Regions from separate parts of the Homo sapiens genome. Here all the other regions are linked to region 3. Evidence: promoter capture Hi-C in human tissues and cell types (Jung and others, 2019). All regions are on one chromosome and are shown on one strand. The core of a region is centred on a gene start or on the middle of the fragment in contact, and the rest is flanking DNA. Distances in the headings are between cores, read along the strand shown. Region 1 holds the start of PIEZO1 (piezo type mechanosensitive ion channel component 1 (Er blood group)). Region 2 holds the start of APRT (adenine phosphoribosyltransferase). Region 3 holds the start of RPL13 (ribosomal protein L13). Region 4 holds the start of CBFA2T3 (CBFA2/RUNX1 partner transcriptional co-repressor 3). Region 5 holds the start of MVD (mevalonate diphosphate decarboxylase).

Region 1 (2,700 bases), core at 34-2,533, 780 kb before region 3:
GTCCATGGCGGACTCCCAATGCAAACCGTCCCACTTGTCCGTGGGTTAATTCCATCCGACTGCTTCCCAGATCAATCACACGTGGGGAGCCCCCGGGCGGAGGGCGCGGACCCTGGGTCCCGGCTAGGCCAGGGTCGGGGAAGGGTAGGGGTGCCAGGCCGTGCAGCACCAAGCCACCCGGGTGTGCTTCGCGAAAGGGGCACCACTGCCCGGCAAGCAGGGAACACAGATGCCAGGACTGGGGACCCCTGCCCCGCCCTGACACCAGGCCACAGCCTCCGGGGGTGTCCCCTCCCCCAGACCAGGGCAGAGGCCGGCCCCCGCCCCTGCGAAACTGAGCCCAGTAGGGCAAGGGAGGACCAGGGAGGAACCCACACTATTTTTTTCCAAAGTGTGGGACCGCCTCAGTCCGGCAGAGGGGGGTGCAGCGGTGAGCGGGGCTGGGCCCTGGGCACGGACGTTCGTTGGGCTCGGGAAGCTCCAAATTAAACAGCTCCAGGCAGGAAGCCCGCCTTCTCCCAGATTGTCAGGAAGTCCTGATGCAACTTTGCGCTTTTTTTTTTAAACCCGAAAGAGAAAAAGAGATTCGTGCTCCCCCCACCACCGCCGCGGCCCTTCCCACCGGGGCAAACACCGCCTCGCCCGGCGGCCTCCTCTCCGCAGCGCCCCGGCGGAGACGCCAGCCGCGCTATGCCCGGCGCTCGCTCGACCGCCCCCGTGGGCACGCGGTGCCGTCTCCCCCAGCCGCCGCCGCCCTTCCAGCCCGGCCCTGGGACAGGAGCCCCGCCGCCGCCTGGCGCGCTCATGCTTCAGGAATGCGGGCGCCCGGGTCGCGCGTCCCTGGGAATTTCCGCGCCCGCTCGCCCGCAGCCCTCGCCCCGGCCGGCGTCGTCCGGTGTCCAGGCCGTGGGGAGCCGAGACGCAGCCCCCTCCCGTCGCCCCCAGGCGCCCGCCCCCCACTCACCAGCCAGCAGCGCGCAGGGCAGCAGCAGCCAGTACAGGACCGCGCCGAGCACGTGCGGCTCCATGGCTGGAGGGCCCAGGGCCCGGCCCAGACCGAGCGGACGCCGCGGCGCTATGGGGCGGTGCGGGGGCCCCGGGGCCGGCGCGCCATGGCTGACCCGCGGGGACCCGCGCGCCGCCTTCTCCTCTTCCTCCTTCTCCTTCGGCCGCCCCGCCGGTGCCGACGTCCCGGGCCCGCGCTCGCTCAGGCGACCGCCCTGCCCCTCGGCGGAGCGCAGCGCTCGGCTCACTGGGGCCGAGCTGGGCCGGACGGCGGCTCCCGCCCTCCTCCGCCCGCGGGCCTTTATAAGCTCGGCCCCCTCCCGCCCTCCCCGGCGTGCCCGCCTCCGCGCTTCCCCGACGGCCCGGCGCGCCCAGGCACCCCCTCCGCTGTCCCGCGCGGCCCGTCCCGCCTCCGGCCCGCCCTGGTGCGTTGGGGCCTGGAGACCCCCGACTGGCGCTGGCCCGGAGCGGACCCCTCCCCTCCCGCAGTCTTGGCCCCGCGGCTCCGAGCGTGCGCGGCGGTGGGCAGGGGCGCTTCTCGCTGGGTGGGCTGCGGCTGGGGCCCGGGCGCTACATAAGGGGTCCCGGGGCCTCTGGCTCCCCCAGGCAGCGCCCCACGCGCAACTGCACCCCGCGTGCCCGAGCGACTTTCGCTTTGCTCCCCGAGGCGCGAGCACGCAGCGCCCCCTGGGGACCGTGGGGAGGCTCGGAGTTCCCGCGGCGGCCGGGCCTAGTGGTCCCGGAGGGAGCACGCGGGATGCTCGGGTCGCAGCAGTGCCGCGATCCGCGTTGGTCTGACGGGGGCTCGGGGGCTGCTCCCAGCCACGCCGGCCACCGCGCGCGGCTTTGCCCGGGTCGCTCTGGCGTGAGACGGTGAGAGTGAGAGCCACGGCCTGTGCACCTGCTGCCGCGGCGCCCTGCCACGGAGAGGTAGGGTCTGAGTCCAGGGTGTTCGGGACCCTCACCCAGGCCACGTCAGTTTGGCCTTCGTCTGCCCTTGAGATGGGCACAGAAAGAGGGCAAAGGGCTCTACACCGTTTAATTGGGCTCAGTTCATGGCTCTCAAACTCAGCTGCGTAAGGCAGGGAGTGGGGCTGGGGGGACTGTGGCCACTGAGCCTCAAGGCACTGGCAACTCATGAGAGCCCAGCACAAGCCCACACCCTCCAGCTCAAAAAAAAAAAAAAAAAAAAAAGATGGCGGGGCAGTGGCTCAGGCCTGTAATCCCAGCACTTTGCGGGGCTGAGGCAAGGGGGTAGGGGGTCGGGGGATCACTTGACGTCAGGAGTTCGAGACCAGCCTGGCCAACATGGTGAAACCCCGTCTCTACTAAAAATACAAAAATTAGGCCGGGCGCGGTGGCTCACGCCTGTAATCCCAGCACTTTGGGAGGCCGAGGCGGGTGGATCACCAGGTCAGGAGATCGAGACCATCCTGGCTAACACGGTGAAAACCCATCTCTACTAAAAACATAAAAAATTAGCCGGGCGTGGTGGCGGGCTCCTGTAGTCCCAACTACTCGGGAGGCTGAGGCAGGAGAATGGCATCAACCCAGGAGGCGGAGCTTGCAGTGAGCCGAGATAGCGCCACTGCACTCCAGCCTGGGCGACAGAGCCAGACTCCGTCTCAATAAATAAATAAATAAATAAATAAATAAATAAATAAATATACAAAAATTAGCCGGGCGTGATGGCAG
Region 2 (2,700 bases), core at 1-2,500, 750 kb before region 3:
AGGAATGTTACCCATCACCTACCCGGAGCTGCTTCCAGGTCAGAGTGCAGACCTGGGTCTGTCTTTTAAGGGACCACTTCTTAGCTGTGTGTTCCTAGGGGAGTCACCACCCCTCTCTCTGAGCTGAGCAGCCCATCTGTAACTGGGCTGGTAGAAACCTGACAGGCCTCAGCTTACTCTCAAAGGCAGCTCTGCACCAGGGCTTCTGTCTAAAAAGGGAGTCTCTCGAGGTGGCCTGAGCTGTGATGGTTGGGGGACGCTCAGGGAAACCCTGCCCCGGCCTGGCAGGAGGTCAGGGAGGGCTTCCTGCAGGAGGTGAGAAGGGAGCTCTGGCAGTGTTGTGGCTCCAGCAAGAGCTGGCGCTTTCCTCAGGGCAGTGTCCAGGGAGTGGGCTGTCACACCCTAGGAGAGGCAAGACGGCCAGGAACACTCTGTTCTCCCTGGGCCACCTCTTGGGCTCTCCCGGAGGCCTCCAGGCCTCCCTTCCCTGGGTGGGCATTCCGTGATCTTCACCAGGGAAGGCCTGGCTCGTGGCAGGCGCTCAATACCAGCTCGCAGAAGGAACAAGAAGCAAGGCAGCTGGGCCCTGTGGATTCAGCTTGGGCACTCCAGGGAGACCAACTGACCCGGCAACTCGGTCACGCCTGTCCTGGGCTGGGGACCCGGAACCTGCGGGAAGGACGCCTGCACAGCGCGGCGGCCTCGGGGGCTCAATCTCACAACCCTTCCCGGGCGACCCAAGCACGGCGCCCGTCCCGGCGCCCCCTGAAGCACCCCAAAGGCCCTCCCCCAAGCAGACGCGCAGAGCCCACGTGCTGCCCTCGGCGCGCGCAGAGGCGGAAGCGCCCTAGATGCGGCCACTGGGCACTCGCCTGCGATGTAGTCGATGCGGCCCCCGTGGGTCGCCTTCAGGTGTCGCGCCAGGAGGCCGATGGCGGCGCGGAAGGAGGCGGGGTCCTTCAGGACGGGCGAGATGTCCCTGGACCCAAGGACAGGCCTGGTGACGCCGGGGCCGAAGGAGGGCAGGGCCCCGGGGGCGAAAGACGAGGGTTCCCGCCCCGCCCGCCCGGAGGTCGCGGGCCACGCGCTCCCATCCGTAGGCCCGCAGGTCGGGGCGCCACGAGGGCGGCCTGTGCGTGCACCTGAATACCACGCCTGGGGTGGGGAAGTCGGGGAAGCTGCGGATCCGCTGCTCAACCAGCTGCAGCTCGGAGTCGGCCATGGCCGCGTGCGAAGAGCCAGCGGCAGCCCGAGCGCGCCTGCGCGGGGACGGGCGGGACCGCCACGAGGGGTGGGGCATCCCCGGAGGGCGGAGCGTGGGTGAGGGGCGGGGCATCCGTCGCCGGAAGCCTGTACCGTATTTCATGGACTCCTAGGCGCCATCGATTTTAAGACGCGCTCGCATTCCACGCACCACTGAGCAGAACGTTCGAACCGGACAAAAGTGCGAGTCAAGGCGCCCTTCCTTGTCTCGGGCTACGCTTCTGACTGCAGCCAGGCAGCTGTGGGCCGGGGCCTTGGCGGCTGGAGGAGGGGCGTGAGCTGGTCTCGCCCACGCACCTGGCGCGCGTACGGGCCGCGCCCTTTCTCCTTTATTGGCCGAGATCCCCACGCTGCGCGCGGGAGGCTGGCGCGCGGGGTGGAGAAGGGCGTGAGGAAGCGGTCCAAGTAGCAGGAGGGCGGTGCAGGGCCCGGAGGGAGCAGCCCAGGGCGGAGGCGGCGGGCCTGGGCTGGACCGGCCGGGGGCGCTGGCCTCTCGCGGATGGGCCCTGCCGTTGAGGCGGCTCTTCCCCGCCCGGACCCGGGGGAGGGAGGCCGGAAGGTGTGGCCAGGCCAGGGCGCGCATCCGCGAGGGCAGAAGCCCTTCTGTCCGCCTGCAGAGGCCAGGTGACCCCTTAGCCTTGGGGTGGGGAGCTGTGAACCCCCTGGCCGCCCGAGGACTGGTACCCAGGGGGTTGTGTGAGGCATAACTCCCCCCAAACACAATTTCCTTTCAAGAAAATCCCCAGAGCTAAAATGCCTTGTGCTCTATTCCAAGACTTTTCTTCATTTCGCAACTTTTTTTTGAGAAGGACTCTCGCTCTGTCGCCCAGGATGGAGCACAGTGGCGCCATCTGGGCTCACTGCAAGCTCCACCTCCTGGGTTCCGGCCATTCTCCCGCCTCAGCCTCCCGAGTAGCTGGGACTACAGGAGCCCGCCACCACGCCCTGCTAATTTTTTGTATTTTTAGTAGAGACGCAGTTTCACTGTGTTAGCCAGGATGGTCTCGATCTCCTGACCCCGTGATCTGCCCGCTTCGGCCTCCCAAAGTGCCGGGATTACAGGCGTGAGCCACCGCGCCCGGCCCATCATTTCGCAACTTTTACAATTCAGCTTTGGCCTGGCAGTTACTGCAGAAGGGAAAACCCACTCAGTGGAAGGCAGCCCCCAGGAGCCTTCGGAGGGGGAGGCCGGAGGCTGCATGCGGCTGCTGGGGCCCCGGTTCCAGGGCGGGTGGGGGACCCATCGTCTGATGCCAAGGGGCGTGGTAGGGGCGGCTGCCTCGCAGTGTGCGGTGGTCAGGGCTGGCAAGGCCTGGGGCCTGGGCTCCAGACCCCTAGGGAAGGTGGAAATGGAGGACCCTGACATCCTCACGTCCCCGGGGAAGCTGCCACATGAGCCGGCCCCACCGGTCCAAGTGTGTGAGCTACACTTCAGCC
Region 3 (2,700 bases), core at 201-2,700:
AGTTCAAGCAATTCTGGTGACTCAGCCTCCTAAGTAGCTAGGATTACAGGCATGCGCCACCACGCCCAGCTTTTTTGTATTTTTAGTAGAGACAGGGTTTCACCATCTTAGCCAGGGTGATCTCAAACTCTTGACCTCGGCTGATCCGCCCACCTCAGCCTCCCAAAGTGCTGGAACTGTGAAATTCTTAAAATGTGGATTACGTTGGCCAGGCACGGTGGCTCACGCCTGTAATCCCAGCACTTTGGGAGGCCCAGGCGGGCGGATCGCGAGGTCAGGAGATCGAGACCATCCTGGCTAACACAGTGAAACCCCGTCTGTACTAAAAATACAAAAAATCAGCTGGGCGTGATGGTGGGCGCCTGTAGTCCCAGCTACTTGGGAGGCAGAGGCAGGAGAATGGCGTGAACCCGGGAGGCAGAACTTGCAGTGAACAGAGATCGCACCACTGAACTCCAGCCTGGGCAACAGAGGGAGACTCCGTCTCAAAAAAAAAAAATAATAATAAGTTTTACCAGGAGGAAGCGTGGTGATTGGGTGAGGGTAGGGAAGAAAGAGGGTTATTGGGATTTAAAGGTTTCCAGGTAGCAGTAAGATGGATGGTGCCTTCACAGACTTATACTAGAGAAGAGATGGCTTTTTGTTGATGCTTTTCTTTGTGAAGGAAGGCAGTAGGCACAGCAGGTCAGAGTGTGACATTTTCAGTCGGGTACCCCTGACCTTAGAGAAGTCACCTAATCCTGGGCCAAGGGAAAGCGACAGAGGCCAACAGTAACTCCGTCTACTAAAATACCAAAAATTAGCAGGGTGTGGCGGCGGGCGCCTGTAATCCCAGCTACTCGGGAGGCTGAGGCAGAATTGCTTGAACCTGGGACGCGGAGGCTGCAGTGAGCCGAGATCGCGCCATTGCACTCCAGCCTGGGCGACGGAGCGAGACTCCGTCTCCAAAAAAAAAAAACAAAAAAAAAAACCACAAATGTTCTAAATGGATGGGAGGAGAATAAACGCTGGAACGACAAGGACGAAGGCCTTAGGTTGCGCAAACTCGGATGTCACTGAAGTTTTTCTGCCTTTGCGCTGCAAACGTGTCTCACAAATGTGAACAAACAGAATTCCTCGGGCGTCGCCCGTTCGCCGTCGGCCCAGATACCGGACTCGCGCGCGTTAGCCCGCAAGACAGGACTCGGCCGCGGCCCGCGCAGCGGCTGAAGCGCCGGGGCAGTAACGGCGGACGTCAAGCAAGTCCGGCCGTCGGTTACTCAGGGCCCAGGAATCACGGCCGCCCCGCCGCATTCTCAGCGGCAACATGTCTGCGACGGCGGCCCTAGGGCTGCCGGGAGAGCCGCGGCGACGTCAGTTCCTCCTTTCGGGGCTCTGATTGGTCAGAGCGCCCGGCGCTTCTGGTTGGCCGGCCCTGCTATCATCCCAGAGTGCATTGCGGGGCCGCTTCCTTTCCGCTCGGCTGTTTTCCTGCGCAGGAGGTGAGGGAGACTGGGTCCTGGCCTTTGGGCATCATCCAGCGCCATCGGCCTGGCGCTTCAGCCAACGCGGGAGTGGATGGGCCCCTTCTTCTTCGCAGACAGCGTTCGGCCGCTGCCCGGGCTCTAGGCGCGGCCGGACGGCCCAGTCTGGAGGGTTCGGGGCGGAGGCCCGGGGGGGTGCGCGCGCCCGGGGTCCGGCCTCTCACTCGCTCCCCTCTCGTCCGCAGCCGCAGGGCCGTAGGCAGCCATGGCGCCCAGCCGGAATGGCATGGTCTTGAAGCCCCACTTCCACAAGGACTGGCAGCGGCGCGTGGCCACGTGGTTCAACCAGCCGGCCCGTAAGATCCGCAGGTGAGCCCTGCGCTCGGGGCTGCCCCTGGGGCTCGTGCCCGCGGCTGCGCCTTGGCTTGCGGGTGGCCGATGCCAGGGCGGGGGGCGCTGTCTGCAACCGTCGCGGAGCGCTGGCCTGGCGGCCTTAGGCAAGGGTGACCGCCGCTGCGCTTCTCTCCACCAGACGTAAGGCCCGGCAAGCCAAGGCGCGCCGCATCGCCCCGCGCCCCGCGTCGGGTCCCATCCGGCCCATCGTGCGCTGCCCCACGGTTCGGTACCACACGAAGGTGCGCGCCGGCCGCGGCTTCAGCCTGGAGGAGCTCAGGGTGAGTACTGGCAGCGCTGCGGTGTCAGGAAGGCCCCGAAGTCCCCTCTGTTGGCCTCAGTCGCGTGATGACATTCTCCGGAATCGCTGTACGGCCTTGATGAAAGCACATTTGAACCCTTTTCCATCTGATTGCTGAGGCTTTTCATCCAGGCCTCGGGGCTGGAGAAAGCCCGGGCCTGTCTCCATCTCTCTCTGGTTCTGGGGCAGGTGGCCGGCATTCACAAGAAGGTGGCCCGGACCATCGGCATTTCTGTGGATCCGAGGAGGCGGAACAAGTCCACGGAGTCCCTGCAGGCCAACGTGCAGCGGCTGAAGGAGTACCGCTCCAAACTCATCCTCTTCCCCAGGAAGCCCTCGGCCCCCAAGAAGGGAGACAGTTCTGTGAGTACACGGCTCTCTGGCCGTCCTGGTGCGCGGGGACAGTGAGGCTTGGCTCCTTTATCAGTGACACCGGTCCCTGGGTCTTGCTGGGGTGAGAAGAACCAAAACATTGTGGGTGATGAGCTAAGCGGGACTGCTAAGGTTCACCTGTGCGTTTCCGCAGAGATAACCTTAATGGAC
Region 4 (2,700 bases), core at 16-2,515, 580 kb before region 3:
TGCTGGGAGTGTGGCCACGAGGGCCACTGGGAATCGGGGCCACCAGCCTGCAGCTGCAGCCCCCAGCGTCCGGGGATCCTTGTCCTGGGACTTCGCAGGCTCGGGTGGGGGGTATCAGCAATAGCTGGCGTCCTGCTGGACTGGACCCCTCCCCAGAGCCCGAAGCCCCCAGAAGGGCAGGCCCAGGTTCCCCGTAAACCCCCACTGCCCTGGCTGGAATCGTTCCTCGGACAGGGGCCCAGGGTTGGGTCCATTTCCTCCTCACCGGGGTCTTGGGCCAGTGCCCTCCCCTCTGGCCTCAGTTTCCTCATCCAACCTGCTGTGAGGTGTCACACCCGGAGGGCATCCCAGGAGGAGGAGGGCTCTCTTTCTAGGACCCCCCCATCACTTCCCGGCTGCGGCCCTCCCACCCCCAGGAGAACACAGCCCACCCTCCTAGACGGGGCTGAGCAGCCCGGCCTCCAGCATCTGCCTCTGGGTGGGGCTGGGGCACCTGGCTGGCACCTGCCAAACCCTCACCAGCCCACCTGCCCCAGCTGTGCAGGACCTGCCTGTGGGGTGGCCCTGTTGATATCTGAGGTGAGTCAACACGGCCATCCGTGCCGGCACTGTCAACTAAGCTGGGCAGGCCCCGCGAAGCTCTAAGGAGTCACAGCCCCGGCACCGGCTGCCGCTCTCTGCCCCCACCCCACCACCTTCCCCTCGAGCCTCTTACCTGGGCCGCCCTTCCTGGGACCCCGGGGTGCGGAGCAGCCGGCAGATGCCAGGAGGCCGCTCTCCAGCACAGGGTGCGTCTGGGACATGGAGCCACAGGTGGATCCCGAGGCTGAACTGGCTGCCCTGTCCCTCAGTCTTGAAGCCGGCATGAGGAGGGCCACCCTCAGGGGCCAACCTGGAGCCCAGGACAGGCCTCTACCAGGACTGCCTTTCCCGACCTCCTGCAGCCTTGAGGGAAAGAGGAGGGGCTGGGCCAGCTGGGGCGTCCTGGAGTTGGGCCTCTGTCCCTGGAAAGCCGAGGCCCTCCCGGCCACCAACTGGGTGTCCTCTGCCCTGGGGAGGGGGTGGGAGCCCTGGGGCTCATGTGACGCGGGGCGGGCCTGGGGCTGCAGGCTGGGGAAGGTCTCCCTGCAGCCTGCGGGTGAGGCAGCCAGCTGTGTCCCCGTGATAATGCCGGGGCCGGAGGCCTGCAGCTGCGCCCGCCACTTCCCTGACAGGAACCATCTGGGGCCCTGCCCTGCGCGGCCTTCCCTCGGGCCATTCCGGTTTGACCTTCCAACAACTTCCTCCTCCCAGGCAGCTCTGGTGACGTCCCACCCACCCTGAGCCCTACAGCGTGGCCACTGGGCATGTGTTTCCTCGGCCCCAGGGCAGGTGTGCAGGCCTGAGGGCAGCTCCATCCTGGCCCAGAGCCCTTGGCCTGTCCCGCCCACCCATCTTCCCCCCAGGGCTTGGCCCTTCCTTCAGCCTGGGGTATCTGGGGGTGTCCTCCCTCTCCGCTAGCCCTCAGTCAGCCGAGCTTTCCCCAGCACCCCTTTTAGTTTGCCCCCGCTCCAGGGGCCACCCTGCCCGTGTTCCTGTGTCTGCTGACTGTGCCCTTGAGCAAGGCGGGGCCTCTGACCAGCCTCTCCTCAGCCCCTGCTCCGGGGTTCTTGGGCACCTGACCTGTCCTCAAAGTACCTCCCGCCTGCTGGGAAGGAAACCCTCTCTCTCTGCTTGGCCTCGTGCACAGGGCTCCTGGCCCTCTGTGGAGACAGCAGGGCTCCCCCACTCTCCGGGGGTGCCTCAGAAAGACCCTCACCCCACGCCCCAGCGGCCGCCTCCGGTGAGCAGCCTGGAGTTTGCGGGGGTCGGGGGTAGGTGGCTTCTCCAGTCTGGGAAATTCCAGAAGCCACCTCAGAGCACTCTTGGGACTACTTAGACCCTAGGGAGAGTCCTAGGACCCCTTTCTAGCGGCCGTTGGGCTGAGAGAGTGAGGCACATCCCAGATGCTGGGAAAAAAAGCCACTTTCTAAAGCTCCCTGACAACTGTCAGAGGGCAGGAGCTTCCTGGGAGGGGACAGTGACCCTTCGGCCCTGCAGCCCTGGTTCGGTGGCTTTTCTGATGCCATGGCTGGAGGTTTCCCGGCCTCAGACAGGCCAGAGGTGTGGAGCCCGCAGACCCAGGGCCGGCTCACGGGCATCTGTGCTATTTTGATTTGATTTGATTTGAGTTTTAGGTCACGTTTGCACGCAGTTAATAATTCAAGCCGTGCAGGAGTAAAAGCCGACTCCTTCCCCGCAGGGTCTCCAGGTGTCCCGGGTCTCCCTGTCCCAATAGTCGAGTGTCTTTCTCGAGTTGGTGACAACAAGCTGCATGCCAGCGTGTGTGTCCAGCTTACAGTGGGGATGTGTTTGTTCCTGCTGGGGAACTTCCCAGACGCCAGGCCCACCCGGGGCCTCCCCTGCCCTGGGTGGTCGGCCGTTCTGCCCCCAGGACTGAGGCTGGAGGGGACATTCCTGCCAGCCCGGGGCCCATCCCCTGGTGCCATCATTCGGTCCCCACGTCCCCTGCTGTTCCCTGTGCTCTGGCTCAGGGTGGGATTCACAGTGAGGGTCCTGGGGGCCCTGACCCTCCTGGTTTCCTCATTTGTGCAGGGTGCACGATCCTAACGGCGTCAGCTCCTACAGCGTTTCCGGGAGTGGAGACAGCAGAGGCTCTGA
Region 5 (2,700 bases), core at 33-2,532, 900 kb before region 3:
CCAGCCACTCTGAAAAACAATTAGACAGTTTCTTTAAAAAAAAAAAGTATATATATAATATATATATGTATATATACACACACATACATCTATATAGGTGTATACATATACACACACATATATCTATACAGGTGTATATATATATACACACACACAAACATACATATATACATAGAAAGAGAGAGAGAGACAGAGAGGCATATATATATATCTACCATCTGACCCAGCAACCGCACTCCTGGGCATTTATCCCAGAAGAATGGAAATGTATGTTCACACAAAAACCTGTATACAACATTTTATGGCAGCTTTATTGGTAAGGGAAACACAAAAAAATTAGCCAGTCGTGGTGGCGGCTTCTGGAAAGAAAAGAAAGAAAGAAAGAAAACGTTAGATGCTCTTTGCGGGGTGAGGCCTTGGCTAGAGAGAGGGTGGTCCATGGATTCCACGGACTGGCTCAGCAACAGAGGGGCAAAGCACTGATACAATCCCGGGGCACGTCCACATTCTATGCTGAATGAAATAAGCCAAACTCAAAAGATACTGGGTGGGCCACATAACTGCGATTCCAGTTTCAGAACATTTTGAAATGACGTTACAGAAATGAGTGGTCAGTGGCGGCCAGGTAACCCCGGCGCGAGGGGAGGGGCGGGGCTGTGAACGCACAGGTGCGGACCGGCCTCCCCGGCACGGATGTGGGCCTGCGGGCCCCCCATTACCGCTCCTTGGAGGTTACCGCTGGGAGAAACGGGGCGAGGGAGGGACACAGGGTCTCGGGCTGGGGGAGCAGTGGCGCGATTTCCGCTCACTGCAGCCTCGACCTCCCGGGCTCTGGCCATCCTCCCGCCTCAGCCTCCCGAGTAGCTGGAGCCACAAACGCGCACCACCACGGCGGATTCTTACGATTCATGGGAATCGATGATTGATGATTTCGATAGTTCGGTAATCGCTAATGGGCAGGCGCCGGGCGACCCTGCAGGGGCGGCAGCCGTCGCGGGGGAACGGGTGGCGCCGAGCTTGTCACGCGAAGGAGCGCGCGGCCCCGCCCGACCACCGCCGCGCCCCTCCCTGAGCCTCAGTTTCCCCGTCTGTCGAGGCCCTGGGAGGGCAGGACGGAGCGCGCCGCCGAATCAGCGCGCGACCCCCGCGTACCCGGCCTCGCTCCCGGCCATCCCCGTCCCAGGCCGGCCCGCGGCACTCACAGTACTTGATGACCGCGATGTTGACCGGCGCTGTACAAGTGACTGCCGCCAGCGGCTTCTCCGAGGCCATGGTCCCACCGCGCAGTGACCCCAGCTCCACAGCCACTTACGGCCCGCGATCCCACCCCAGAGGCCTCTGCCTCCTCACGCGCTACCACAGGATTGGCCCGTGCGAGCCCGGCTGCTCGCGCGCCGACCAATCAGCGGCGAGTCGGGCGCACGCATTACCTCTCAGCCAATGGACGGGATCGGACGATGGGTTGCTGACGTAGGTCCGCCCCACCCGCAGGGTGCGCTCGCCAGGCCTGGGGCGTGGTGTTGTCTGCGCAGGCGCCGTGTGCCCAGGCGCCTGGCGTCCGCGTCGGCGATCCGGGGTCTGGGCGCGGCGAGGTGGGCGCTGTTGCCTGTGGGGGCTACCTGTCTGCTGGTGCTGTGCGGGCTTGTGCGGGGCTGTGCGGCAGCTGTGTGGGGCCCGTGAGGAGCTGTGCGGGGGGCTGTGCGAAGGGCTGTGTGAGGCGCTGTGCTGGGGGCTGTGCGGAGACCTTGAGGCGCTGTGCGGGGTCCGTGAGGCTCTGTGTGGGGCGCCGTGTGGGAGACTCTGCGGGGGCCGTAAAGGGTCCGTGAGGCGCTGTGTGCGGGTTGTGAGGCGCTGTGCGGGGACCATGAAGGGGCCGTGGGGCGCTGTGCGGGTGCCGTGGGGCGCTGTGTGGGAGGGAGGCTGTGCGGGGCCGTGGGACGGTGTGCGGGGCTGAGGGGAGGGCGGGTCGCGCTGTGCCCTCCTTGAAGCTCTTGGACGGCCCCGCTGGGTATGGGGGTGCACACAGGCCCGAGGGCAGGCGCTGGAGGATGTATCCCGGGATCCACTCTTAACCCGGCAGCCGAAGGCACCCTGTCCCGCCGCCCACAGCCTTCTCCGCGCCATGTCCTGGGCCAGGATCCCCCGCCACGGGGCTCACACGAAAGACCCCGGGGCGGGGAAGCCCCGCAGCCCGGAGCTGGGTCCAACCTGCATTAAGGTGGGCGTCTCAAATACCCCCTGTAAGGCCCTGTAGGAGCAAAGCCTTGGACTGGGTTGCGGCGCTTGTGTGTGCATTGACTTCTCCTGTGAAACGTACAGGAACATTTAAGCGTGCCGTTCCCTGCCATTCATTCCAATCATGTGCCACGCCCCCACTATTTCTAGAGTTTTCTCACCCCAAACAGAAACTCTGTCCCCTTAAAACAATGACTTCCCATTTTCCCCTTCCCCTTTTAAAATTTTACCTTTAGTTTTTAAATAGCTCAGATTGGCTGGGCATGGTGGCTCACACCTGTAATCCCAGCACTTTGGGAGGCCGAGGTGGGCGGATCACGAGGTCAGGAGTTTGAGACCAGCCTGGCCAACATGGTGAAACCCTGTCTCTACTAAAAATACAATAATTAGGTGGGCGTGTGGTGCACGCCTGTAATCCCAGCTACTGGGGAGGCTGAGGCAGGACAATTGCTTGAACTCAGGAGG

Evidence for each region. The method cuts DNA at HindIII sites, captures the fragments that hold promoters and counts their contacts. A contact is called where the count stands out against the background at its distance.
Region 1: a contact is called between the fragment with the promoter of PIEZO1 here and the fragment with the promoter of RPL13 in region 3, in 3 of the 25 tissues and cell types used here (dorsolateral prefrontal cortex, lymphoblastoid cells and spleen).
Region 2: a contact is called between the fragment with the promoter of APRT here and the fragment with the promoter of RPL13 in region 3, in 1 of the 25 tissues and cell types used here (spleen).
Region 4: a contact is called between the fragment with the promoter of CBFA2T3 here and the fragment with the promoter of RPL13 in region 3, in 2 of the 25 tissues and cell types used here (hippocampus and lymphoblastoid cells).
Region 5: the fragment with the promoter of MVD here is called in contact with the fragment with the promoter of RPL13 in region 3 in 2 of the 25 tissues and cell types used here (adrenal gland and lymphoblastoid cells).

Annotation. Positions count from the first base shown.
Region 1 is chr16:88,783,937-88,786,636 of GRCh38, forward strand. PIEZO1 (piezo type mechanosensitive ion channel component 1 (Er blood group)) reads right to left here and starts at 1,284. Exons shown (of 51, transcript NM_001142864.4): 1 at 965-1,284. The coding sequence starts at 1,028. RefSeq lists silencers at 113-432, 933-1,412, 1,453-1,782 and an enhancer at 515-1,428. The HindIII fragment of the contact is 3,328 bases long and covers 1-1,477 here.
Region 2 is chr16:88,810,678-88,813,377 of GRCh38, forward strand. APRT (adenine phosphoribosyltransferase) reads right to left here and starts at 1,251. Exons shown (of 5, transcript NM_000485.3): 1 at 1,143-1,251; 2 at 873-979. The coding sequence starts at 1,222. RefSeq lists enhancers at 1-120, 1,626-2,310, 2,311-2,700 and silencers at 1,004-1,403, 1,654-1,913. The HindIII fragment of the contact is 27,772 bases long and covers 1-2,700 here.
Region 3 is chr16:89,559,232-89,561,931 of GRCh38, forward strand. It overlaps RPL13 (ribosomal protein L13), which reads left to right and starts at 1,451. Exons shown (of 6, transcript NM_000977.4): 1 at 1,451-1,481; 2 at 1,709-1,832; 3 at 1,996-2,137; 4 at 2,347-2,520. The coding sequence starts at 1,729. It overlaps SNORD68 (small nucleolar RNA, C/D box 68), which reads left to right and starts at 2,199; the gene lies at 2,199-2,270. RefSeq lists silencers at 1-112, 1,654-1,923, 1,984-2,033 and an enhancer at 1,434-1,543. The HindIII fragment of the contact is 11,945 bases long and covers 1-2,700 here.
Region 4 is chr16:88,975,942-88,978,641 of GRCh38, forward strand. It overlaps CBFA2T3 (CBFA2/RUNX1 partner transcriptional co-repressor 3), which reads right to left and starts at 1,266. Exons shown (of 12, transcript NM_005187.6): 1 at 716-1,266. The coding sequence starts at 866. RefSeq lists an enhancer at 1,638-1,687. The HindIII fragment of the contact is 13,654 bases long and covers 1-2,700 here.
Region 5 is chr16:88,661,809-88,664,508 of GRCh38, forward strand. It overlaps MVD (mevalonate diphosphate decarboxylase), which reads right to left and starts at 1,283. Exons shown (of 10, transcript NM_002461.3): 1 at 1,203-1,283. The coding sequence starts at 1,272. It overlaps SNAI3-AS1 (SNAI3 antisense RNA 1), which reads left to right and starts at 1,565. Exons shown (of 4, transcript NR_024399.1): 1 at 1,565-1,592. RefSeq lists silencers at 1,028-1,447, 1,788-1,947 and an enhancer at 1,528-1,577. The HindIII fragment of the contact is 7,255 bases long and covers 1-2,700 here.